Regions from separate parts of the Homo sapiens genome. Here region 1 is linked to region 2. Evidence: promoter capture Hi-C in 16 types of primary human blood cells and fetal thymus (Javierre and others, 2016). All regions are on one chromosome and are shown on one strand. The core of a region is centred on a gene start or on the middle of the fragment in contact, and the rest is flanking DNA. Distances in the headings are between cores, read along the strand shown.

Region 1 (5,540 bases), core at 2,170-4,669, 410 kb before region 2:
ACCAGCCTGAGCTATGGGGTGAAACGCCATCTCTACTAAAATACAAAAAATTAGCCAGGCGTGGCAGCATGTACCTGTAATCCCAGCTACTTGGGAGGCTGAGACAGGAGAATCGCTTGAATCCAGGAGGCAGACATTGCAATGACCCGAGATCGCACTGTTGCACTCCAGCGTGGGACACAGAGCACGACTCCAACTCAACAAAAAAGGTTGTGGATGGGGTGATCTGACACTTTTTCAAAAAATGCCAAAGCTTTAGAACTACACAGAACCATGAAACTTTTATAAGGTAACTGAAAGATAAGAAAATACAGTGATTCTTTACATCATTTAAAAAATAAGCATCAAGAACTCTATAAATCACTAATAAATAGAGGTTTAAGAATGGCTTGGGTAAACTGGTGGGTTAGTAAGTCCATAATAAGTTATGCAGCTAGGCGGGGTGCAGTGGCTCACGCCTGTAATTCCAACACTTTGGGAGACCAAGGTGGGCAGATCACTTAAGATCAGGAGTTCAAGACCAGCTTGGCCAACACAGTGAAACCCCATCTCTACTAAAAAATACAAAACAAAAACTAGCTGGACATGGTGGCACGCACCTGTAATTCCAGCTATTTGGGAGGCTAAGGCAGGAGAATGGCTTGAACCCAGGAGGTAGAGGTTGCAGTGAGCTGAGATTGCGCCACTGCACTCCAGCCTGAGCGACAGAGAGACACTCTGTCTCAAAAAAAAAAAAAAAATGTTATGCAGGTAAATCCTCCCATGGAGGTGGTTATTGCTCCTTCCACCCCCGAACACCCTCTGTCGCTTGGGTACCCTAAGATACCATGCTTTTATATAAAGCACTGTTCTTGTGAGAAATACGTGTAACCTGTGTTTTTTATGTTTAGAGATTTTATTCCCTCAAAGTTGCCCCCAAAGTTAAAGCCACAGCTGCGCCTGCAGGAGCACCGCCACAACCTCAGGACCTTGAGGTTAGTCCCACTAACTTGCTCGCTGGAAGCTATACATGCCTTACTCTCCTTGGTAATACGAAGACATTCATTATATCTCTACTTTATTTTAAATACAGTTTACCAAGTTACCAAATGGCTTGGTGATTGCTTCTTTGGAAAACTATTCTCCTGTATCAAGAATTGGTTTGTTCATTAAAGCAGGCAGTAGATATGAGGACTTCAGCAATTTAGGAACCACCCATTTGCTGCGTCTTACATCCAGTCTGGTGAGTATCTTCACTTCCTCAAGTGTTTGGAAATGCTGTGGTATCTTGGTCCTGTGAAAAAGAAAAACTAAGATCAATGTCTTTATATTTTGATTCCTTGACCTGCCATAACAAATTACCACGGACTGGGTAGCTTAAACCAAATAAGTTTATCCTGTTACAGTTCTAGAGGCTAGAAGTCCAAGTCAAGGTGTCTAAGCCAAGCCAAGATATCAGCAGGGCTGTGATCCCTCTAAAGGTTCTAGGAAGGCACAAATCCTCCCCTGCCTGTTCCTAGCTTCCAGCAGTTGCCCACAACCCTTCATGTTCCTTGACCTGCAACTGCATCACTGCAGTCTCTGCCTTTGTTGTCACATGGCCTTCCTTCTGTCTGTGTCCACATTTCCTCCTGATAAGGATACCAGTTACATTAGATTTAGTGCCCACTATAATTCAATATGATGTCATCTTAAGTACTTAAATCTGCAGAGACCTTATTACCAAATAAAGTAACATGCAAATATTCTGGCTGGACATAAATTTGGGGGGGAACACTGTTAAACCCAGTACTGTCCCCTAATGTAAAATGAGAAACCACAAGATATTTGCCACAGAGAAGCACTAAATTAGTATCCATATGAATGTTGATGTTAGAGCATAAGAAATCAGTAAACAAATTTTTAACAGGAAGTGCCGCAAATTGAAAGAAAATTAACTCTTTTTTTCCCATATACAAGTCTCTTTCAGAATAGACTAATGAATCCAGTAAGCTTGTATTTGACAGTGGAAATTTTACATGAATGTACTTAATGTAAAAATGTATACTTAAGCTTTTTGTTGAGCCTTGTTTTATAATTCTTAACTAAAAAGGATGCAGGAATTTAGTAAAATTCTTTTTAAATCTGCTCACAACAGATTTTGATATAGTGTGATGTTTGGCAAACTTGGCATTGAAAAGCTACAAAGATAATCATTCTTTCTTTTTCAAGACGACAAAAGGAGCTTCATCTTTCAAGATAACCCGTGGAATTGAAGCAGTTGGTGGCAAATTAAGGTTTGTTAAATAAGTAATAGAAAATAGTGAAAATGCCAGAAAATATTCAATTTTAAGGGAACTTTTCTCTGTTATCAAGGAGGTTGAGGATTTCTTAAGCAACATAAGAAGGAAAAGACTGATGAATTTGAGTATATCAAACTGTAAAACATCTTTATGTCTTAAAGTAAAAATTTAAGTAACTGTCTGGGAGTAGATATCTGCAATATATAGGCATACCTCAGAGATGTTGCAGGTTCTGTTCCAGACCACCACAATGAAGGGAATATTGCAGCAAAGCAAGTCATAGGAATTTTGTGGTTTCCCAGTGCATATAAAAGTTATGTTTACACTATACTGTGGTCTACTAAGTGTACAATGACATTTTGTCTTGGAAAAAAAGTACATAACCTTAATTTTAAAATATTTTATTGCTTTAAAAATGTTAACAGTTATCTGAATCTTCAGCAAGTCATAATCTTTGCTGGTGGAGGGTCTTGCCTCCACGTTAATGGCTGATGACTGATCAAGGTGGTGGTTGCTGAAGGTGGTGGTGACTGATAATTTCTTAAAATCAGACAACAGTGAAGTTTGCTGCATTGATTGACTCTTCCTTTTGTGAAAGACTTCTCTGTAGCATGAGATGTTGTTTTTAGCCGTTTACCCACAGAACTTCTTTCAAAATTAGTCAGTCATCTCAAACCTTACCACTTTTTTATCAACCAAGATTATGTAATATTCTTTTTTATCATTTCGACAGTGTTCACAGCATCTTCAACCAGGAGCAGATTCTATCTCAAGAAACCACTTTGTTTGCTCATCCATAAGAAGCATCTCCTCATCTGTTCAAGCTTTATCATAAGATTGCAGCCATTCAGTCACATCTTCAGGCCCCACTTCTAGTTCTCTTGCTACTCCCACCATAGTTGCAGTTTCTTCCCCCTCTGAAGTCTTGCCTCTCAGAGTCATCCATAAGGGTTGGAATTGGCTTCTTCCAAACTCACGTTAATGTTGATACTTTGACATCCTCCCATGAGTCACAAATGTTCTTAATGGTGTCTAGAATGGTGAATTCTTTCCAGAAAGTTTTTTAATTTACTTTGCCCAGATCCATCAGCGTCTTCACTATCTGTGGTAGCTGTAGCCTTACAAAATGTATTTCTTAAATAATAAGACTTGAAAATAAAAATTACTCCTTGATCCATGGGGTGCAGAAGGGATGTTCTATTAGCAGGCATGAAAACAGTGTCAATCTCCTTGTACATCTGCATCAGAGCTCTTGGCATTGTTGCAGTAATAATTTGAAAGGAATCTTTTTTCTGAGCAATGGGCTTAAAATATTCAGTCAACCATGCTATAAACAGATGTACTATCATCCAGGCTTTTTTGTTCATTTACAGAGCATAGGCAGAGTAGATTTAGCATAATTCCTAAGGGCTCTAGGATTTTGAGAATGGTAAATGACCTCATCCTAAAGTCACCAGCTGCATTAGTCCCCAACAAGAGTCAGCTTGTCGTTTGAAGCTTTGACGCCAGGCATTGACTTCTCTAGCTACGAATGTCCTGGACGGCATCTTCCAATGTAAGGCTGTTTTGTCAGCATTGAAAATCTGTGGTTTAGTGTAGCCACCTTCATCGATGATCTTATGTAGATCTTCTGGATAACGTGCTGCAGCTTCTATATTAGCATTTGCTGCTTCACTGTGTACTATTATATTAAGAAGATGGCTTCTTTCCTTAAAGCTCATGAACTAACCACGGCTAGCTTCAGACTTTTCTTCTGCATCTCACCTCTCTCAGCCTTCATATAATTGAAGAGAGTTAGGGCATTGCTCTGGATTAAGCTTTGACTTAAGGGAATACAGTTTGATCTAATCCAGACCAGTAAAACTCTGTATTATCAGCAATAAGTCTGTCTTGCTTTCATATCATTTATGTGTTCAGTGGAGTAGCACTATTAGTTTTCTTCAAGAACTGCACTGGTGCAAGAGGCCTAGCTTTTGACCTGTATCCGTTTTTAACATGCCTTCCTGACTTCCTTAGAAGCTTAATCCTTTCTAGCTTCTGATTTAAAGTGAGAGACATGAGACTCTTCCTTTCACTTGTATACTTAGGGGCCATTGTCGGGTTATTCATTAGCTTAATTTCAATATTGTTGTGTCTCAGGAGTAGGAATATCCAAAGAGAGGGAGAAAGACTTGGGGAGCAGCTGGTCAGTGGAACACTCAGGACAGAAACAGCATTTCTTTTTTTTTAATTAATTTATATTAAAGACAGGGTCTTGCTCTGTTTCCCAGGCTGGAGTGGAGTGGTGCAGACATACCTTATTGCAGCCTTGAACTCCTGGGCCCAAGCGATTCTTCTCCCTCCGCTTCCCAAGTAGCTAGGACTATAGGCACATGACTCCATGCCTGGCTAATTTTTTATTTTTTGTACAAATGGAGGTCTCACTATGTTGCCCAGACTGGTCTTGAACTCCTGGCCTCAGGTGATCCTCTCACCTCAGCCCAGCATGCTGGGATTGCAGATGTGAGCCACTGCACCCAGCCCAGATTTTTTATATATTGTGTTGTCAGTGGTAAAGATGATAGAGAATGTCTCATTCTGCTGATAGGAGTATAAATTGATACAACCACTTAGGAAAGAATCAAGGAATATCTGGTAATATTGAAAAACCCCACAGTTTTTAATCACATTCACAAAGGTATTCTTTATAAAGACTGGAAACGATCTAAGTGTCCATCTTTAGGGAAATGGGTAAAGTATGACAGAGTCATGATGAGACCACTATACAGCCATTACGGAATGAACTAGATCCATACGTCAACATAGCACAACTGAAGGGCAAAATAGAGTGTGAACAAGCAAGTTTCAAGATTTCTTTAAGGTATTTTAATTTTTTAAGCAGAAAAATACTATGTAGTGCTTATGATTGTGGTTTCCAGAGTGGGAGAGAGTGAGGGAATTGGTCTTGGAAGGGTACGAAAAGATCTTCAACTTTATTTGCCATTTTAAAAAATTGTGGTCAAATGTATATAACATAAAATTTATATATATATATATATATATATATATATATATATATATATATTTTAGACAGTCTCGCTGTGTCGCCCAGGCTGGAGTGCAGTGGCATGATCTTGGCTCACTGTAACCTCCGCCTCTTGGGTTCAAGCGATTCTCCTGCCTCAGCCTCCGTGGTAGCTGGGATTACAGGCGTGCGCCACCATGCTTGGCTAATTTTTGTATTTTCAGTAGAGACCATGGTTTCACCCTGTTGGCCAGGCTGGTCTCAAACTCCTGACC
Region 2 (6,186 bases), core at 1,065-3,564:
TAACAACCTCCCACAGCGGGAGAATGCAGCGTGGACTAAGGCACCTGATGGAAGAGAGCCATGAAAACAATTCTGTGCGAGTGCTTCAGTGCAGTTCAACAAATATTAAAATCGAGCTTCCAGTATGTGCCAAGTATTATGCTAGATGCTGGAAACACAAGAAAAAAGAACCTGCCCCCTCTATGCCCTTAAAGATTAATGCTTCTTAAATACAGGAAAGAGAAATATTTAGTTGTGATGATACAAATTAAATTATAGGGAAGTACTGCAGTGGTACAGTGGTTGCCTCACAAATCCTGGAGAAACTATCAAACTAGGCCATCAATCCTTACGGGGAAATCTGAAAACAGGTTTGTTAATATGTATAATAAATTTGTCTCTTGGACATAAAGAAGATGGTGCCAAACACTGCACTGCAACCACTAAGTAGCTTGGACTCTGTAAGTGTAATAAAGGTGAATTACTTTGGTTAAAGTGATTGCATGTTAATTTAAGAAATTATCTTCCTCCAAAAGAGGTGCTCATTTTATTTTCCTTTTCTGAGTTATTCAGGTCTACATTCTTTTCTTCTGCCATGTTCAGTGGTTAGCATGAACAAGCAACATGATCATTTAATATTCAACTAAATGAGATGTTAATTTTCATTGCAAGATTAGAGCTGAGAGCATTTACACAGAATTGCAGAAACTGAAGATGCCTGGAAAAATTCCTGAGGATTGTTCAGTACTCAGTATAGCGGTTAAGAACGTTTGCTCTGGAGTCTTAAGGAGAACCCTAGCACTCCCCAACATTACTACCTCTATTGTGTTACTGGGAGAATTAAATGAGCAACTGTGTTATGGGCCTATCAGTGTTAGGCACATAAAAAGTGTTCCCCAACTGCTAGCTCCTGCTATTAGTATAAGAAAAACAGGGGCCCCACTGGCCCCAAAGAGTGGGCTACTCTACGATTGTTCTCTGGAGACACCATCGGCAGGCCTGTTTCTAAGTGAAAGCTGGCGTGCAAACTGAAGAAAAGTGGCAGAGATAGATGCGCTCTTTCTTCTGTCGTTTCAATTGGCATCTGGTGAACTATGCCTAACAGCTTAACGCCCAACTGAAAAAAACTGTAAACTAGGATGGTAAGGAAGAGATGGGGTTTGAGCAGTGACTACAACTCTTCTTCTGAGTGTGTGGGTTCAAAAAACACTCCCTCCCACACTTAGCTTTAGGCAAGCCACTTTACCGTTTTAATCTCCGCTTTCCTCATATGGAAAATGGGATAACAAAAGTGTGTAATTGGATTGTTTGTACCTCAATGGATAAATGCTGGGATGGACGCCCCGTTCTCCATCACGTGCTTATTTCACACTGCGTGCCTGTATCCAAACATCTCATGTACCCCACAAATATATACACCTACCATGTACCCTCAAACATTAATTTTTAAAAAGTTACTGTCTCCTGGAGTTACGGTGCGGAGCGCACAGCTCCCGCTACGCCGCAAAACAACTACCACCTGCAGCAGCCGGCCCTCCACGCTGGCCATGAAAGGCGCTGGGCTAGACAGCCTGCGACGGGGCGGCTTCTCGGGCTATGCCACTTACTGCGGGACACACTGGCTCACCCGGGTCTGCCTCGGAGGAATGCAGTGAGGATTAAACTAGCTAATCCACGGAAAGCGCTTAAAACGGTGCCTGGCTCGTCCCTGGCCCCCACGCGCCTCGGGGCTGATATTCAACTGCGCATTAGCAAGGCCGTGGGCCCCGTGCCGAGGCTTCCTGCGGGCGGGATCCGCGGGCACGGCCGGCCCAGCCGCCAGGTGAGCCTGAGCCCTTCCCGGCACCTGCATCCTCCGCCGCCACAAAAAGCAACTTTTTAACAGTTTCGCAGCGGGGGCCTCCCGGGCCAGGCCGCCGCCCGCCCGCGGGGCGCCCCCGCCCTCACCTTGCTGGAGGTCCTGGTGGTCGTACCACGGCTCGTCCTCCTTCATCTCAAACTCCTCTACCAGGTTTTCCGCCAGCATCTCGGCTGGGTCTTCTAGGGGCAGCGGCCCCCGCCGCCGTCCCGCCTCAGCCGCTGCCCCGGGCTCTTCCCCGGCCCCTCCGCCCTCAGCCAGAGCCGCCCTCGGGCGGGACGCGCCGCCGCCCAGACTCCGCTGCGCCGCCTCAGCCCCGTTCCCGCCGGCGGCCGCCGACCGGCCGGCTGCCTCGACTCGCCTCGCGCCTACCGACGGCCCCAACGGCCGGGCATTACGGTGCGAACGCCTGGAGCCGGAGTCTCACGCAGCCGCCAGTCTTCACGCCGCCGCCGGGCCCAACGTGGCACTTTGGCAGAACCCTCCCCGGCCGGGGATGCGATTCAAACCCCCGGCGGCGCCTCAACCAATCGCGAGCGGGCTGCTGGCCGAGCGGCAGGGACTTCGTCCAATCGCCTCTCTCCAAAGACCGGCGGCTCGCCCGGTATCGAGGGCAAGCAGCCAATGGTGGGTCCGGAATAAACAAAGAAGGCGGGGAAAGAGTGAAGGGGTGCGGCCGAAAGCCCGTCCCCTGATCTGCGCTGTGAGGCTCCTAGGAGGGCGTTCTGGGTTTCGGGCTGGGGAGCTGGCAGAGGCGCGTCTTACCCCTGTGGTGGGTGTCCCGAGGCCGGCGCGTCTGTGGACAGGCAACGCAGGCCGGAGGGCCTAGGACTCCGGCCTCTGAGAGGCGGGCGGTTGTCCAGGGGAGTCCTTCGTGCCGGCGGGAAGCGCAAGGGTGCCGGAAGCCTGAGGTCCGCCGCCCGGCCACCCCTTCTCGCATCTTGACTCTGAGATTTGCTCCGGGTCCGGCGGGGAGACTCGAGGTCGATCGGGAGTTTGGGTTGAGAAAACGCCCACTGAGCGGTAGCTCTTGTCTCCTTGACATCTGAGCCCTGGGAATTAAACTCACGCTACATAAAACGGTGGGCACCAGACCCCCTTGAGAATCTGGGGCGGTGAGGGATGCCCGAAGCTGTCCACTTGGAGGGCGAAAATTGTAAGCAGTGTTGCAACGATTTTTAAAAGGTACCCCTAGACCACAAGTTAAGCATCTGGGGACGTGACATTGCACCTGGAGGGGACAGGCTGCAGCTCCAGCACTTAGTAGCCAGCGAGGCAGAGCACGCTGTCCTCCACCGACATAACCCAGCAAATACTGCTCCTAGGTAAAGCTTTAAGCACCATCTTGCAGACAAAGCACGGAAACTCTTAAGCAGGATGACAGACCTGAAGGTCAATGTTCTCAACCTTGACGTAAAGGTAAAGGTGCAGCTGATGGAAGACAACAGGGCCAATATCTAACTAACTTTGAGCAACGAAACAAAAAAAAATCGAGGTTTAAGTATACAATTGAAAGATTATCTCTAGAACATGAGGTAATAAACTGTTAGAAATTCAGAGAGAGGGAAGAGGTGGAGAGGAGTGTTAAATCCTGATCTATTTTAGAAGTGAGTCGACAGATAATACCTTACATTGATAATCCAATGAATAGTTTCCACAAATATGGAGAGAGCTGCCAGAACTAAAAATGGGAAGCAATTAAGAGTTTTCCGAGGCTGGACACGGTGGCTCACGCCTGTAATCCCAGCATTTTGGGAGGCCGAGGCGGGCGGATCACCTGAGGTCGAGAGTTCGAGGCCAGCCTGACCAACATGGAGAAACCCCATCTCTACTAAAAATACAAAATTAGCTGGGCGTGGTGGCGCATGCCTGTAATCCCAACTACTTGGAAGGCTGAGGCAGGAGAATTGCTTGAAACCCGGGAGGTGGAAGTTGCAGTGAGCCGAGATTGCGCCATTGCACTCCAGCCTGGGCAAAAACTGCGTCTCAAAAACCAAACAAAAAAAAAAAGTTTTCCTAAGAGGAGGAGTGATTTGAGGCTGGGGACTTTGGCTTTTTGTTATAAACCCTTCTGTGATCTTGCTTTTTTAGTTACTTGCACATTAAAAATAAGGGAAATTGTAGGGAAGGAATTATAGACTCAAGCTACTTTTTTTGTCTTTCTGTATAAAAAAAGACTTGGGTAATTTGGAAGGGGGGAAAAACTCATCCTGAATAATTCTTGTGGGTAATAAAATTCAGGGTGTCTCTCTGCCTCCCATCTTTGCTCAAACCAGCATAACCTAACCTCACGCTGATGCTGTATCAAACAGCACTTGACTCCAGGGTTACCTTACACATAGGCTGTAGGCTACTCTGGAGAAGTCTTGCCAAGGACAAGACCTCCCACTGTGGAGTTGTTACCTGAAGTTTTACCCTTCAGTCCTTAAAGGAGACTGCTGAATAGAGTGGAAAGCACAAGGGACCTAGAGTGAGAAAACCTAGAGTTCTCGCCATACTCAGTACCAGCAGAGAAGCCTTTTAGCAAACAGTTTACAGGAAAGATGATTGTTTGCCTTGCTCACAGAGCTATCTGAATCAGAGAGACCCTGAAAGCAAGTATTTTGTGCTCATTTTAAATGTAAGGCTGTGTTCTTGTGACCTATACTGTAGAAGTGCAGGTACCCTTGAGGACCAATTATGAGCATCACAATAAATAATCATAGTAATGGATTATAACCCATTGAATAAAAAGGAAAGAATCCATGAGTCCATACTGACATAAATAAATGGGAGAGAAAAGAAAACTTTCTTACAGTAGGATGCCAAGCAAAAAATGTAGAAGGAATAACACTGTTAGAAAGTAATAATAATAATAAAAGAGGAATGGTAAACTCACAAATCCCTTTCTTCAAAAAGGCAAAATGTTACTGGCACACCTGTAGTCCCAGCTACTTGGGGGGCTGAGGTGAGAGAATTGCTTGAGTCCAGGAGTTTGAGGTTACGATGAGCTATGATAGGTGACAGCAGAGCAAGACCCTGTCTCAAAAAAAAAAAAAAAAAAAAAAAAAAAAAAGGCTGTGTACAGTGGCTCATGCCGTAATCCCAGCTCTTTGGGAGGCTGAGGCAGGCAGATCACCTGAGGTTGGGAGTTCAAGACCAGCCTGGCCAATAAGGTGGCCCATCTCTACTAAAAATACAAAAATTAGCCGGGAGTGGTGGTGCAAGCCTGTAATCCCAGCTACATGGGAGGCCAAGACACAAGAATCCTTTGAACCTTGGAGGCAGAGGTTGCAGTGATCCGAGACCGTGACACTGTACTCCAGCCTGGGCAATAGAGTGAGACTCTGTCTCAAAAAAAAAAAAAAAAAAAGAAAGAAAGAAAAGAAAGTGAGGTCCTGTAAAGCCTCTTCTACTGCCCTAGTTGTCCATCGAGATATTCAGAGTTGAAATAAGATCACTTCAAACAAACTATCTTAATCACTAAAGATAGAACCCTTTGGAAAGATAGCAAGTTGGATTTAGGAATAATTGGCAATGGTGATTTGTGGAAGCTAAAGGGCTAGAATCATGCAGGGGCATTTTTTTTTTTTTTTTTTTTGAGAGAGTCTCACGCTTGTCACCCAGGCTGGAGTGCGATGGCGTGATCTTGGCTCACTGCAACCTCCGCCTCCTGGGTTCAAGTGATTCTCCTGCCTCAGCCTCCCAAGTAGCTGGGATTAAAGGCGCCCACCACCACGCCTGGCTAATTTTTGAATTTTTAATAGAGATGGGGTTTCAGCATGTTGGCCAGGCTGGACTTGAACTCCTGACCTCAGGCAATCCACCAGCCTCAGCCTCCCAAAGTGCTAGGATTACAGGTGTGAGCCACCGTGCACGGCCCCCTTCACGATTCTTATCACTGATTCGCAAGGTTCAAAGTGCCCGCTGTTTGCTCCATCGAAAACAGAAGCTCATTTTGACTTCAAATGCATATTGAAATGTTCTTTAACAATTCTCCATTTTTTTTTTCTTTTTCAGAGTCTCACCATGTGGCCCAGGCTGGAGTGCAGTGACACCATCTCTGCTCACTGTCACCTCCACCTCCCTGGTTCAAGTGATTCTCGTGCCTCAGCCTCCTGAGTAGCTGGAATTACAGGCATGTGCCACCATATTCGGCTAGTTTTTGTGTTTCAAGTAGAGTCAGGGTTTAGCCATGTTGGCCAGGCTGATCTCAAACTCCTGGCCTCAAGTGATCCGCCTGCCTCAGCCTCCCAAAGTGCTAGGATTACAGGTGTGAGCCACCGCGCCCAGTCAACAATTCTCCTTTAAAAAAGAAAAGAAAAGAAAAGAAAGATATGGAGAATTAAAGTTTTTGAGGGTCAGGCGTG

What was found. Contacts are between HindIII fragments. The CHiCAGO score rates a contact against its expected background, and 5 or more counts as called.
Region 1: a contact is called between a fragment that was not itself captured here and the fragment with the promoter of CDR2 in region 2, in 1 of 17 cell types (non-activated CD4 T cells). The highest score is 5.8, in non-activated CD4 T cells.

Annotation. Positions count from the first base shown.
Region 1 is chr16:21,956,345-21,961,884 of GRCh38, forward strand. UQCRC2 (ubiquinol-cytochrome c reductase core protein 2) reads left to right here. Exons shown (of 14, transcript NM_003366.4): 2 at 891-974; 3 at 1,073-1,222; 4 at 2,191-2,255. It also overlaps a transcript of PDZD9 not described here. Among named protein-coding and RNA genes, the nearest start is that of UQCRC2, 5.8 kb to the left of the region's middle. The HindIII fragment of the contact is 673 bases long and covers 3,084-3,756 here.
Region 2 is chr16:22,372,305-22,378,490 of GRCh38, forward strand. It overlaps CDR2 (cerebellar degeneration related protein 2), which reads right to left and starts at 2,315. Exons shown (of 5, transcript NM_001802.2): 1 at 1,927-2,315. The coding sequence starts at 2,005. It overlaps CDR2-DT (CDR2 divergent transcript), which reads left to right and starts at 2,583. Exons shown (of 3, transcript NR_148970.1): 1 at 2,583-2,919; 2 at 3,023-3,256; 3 at 5,837-5,876. RefSeq lists a silencer at 1,848-2,077 and enhancers at 2,618-2,697, 3,038-3,087. The HindIII fragment of the contact is 4,746 bases long and covers 1-3,166 here.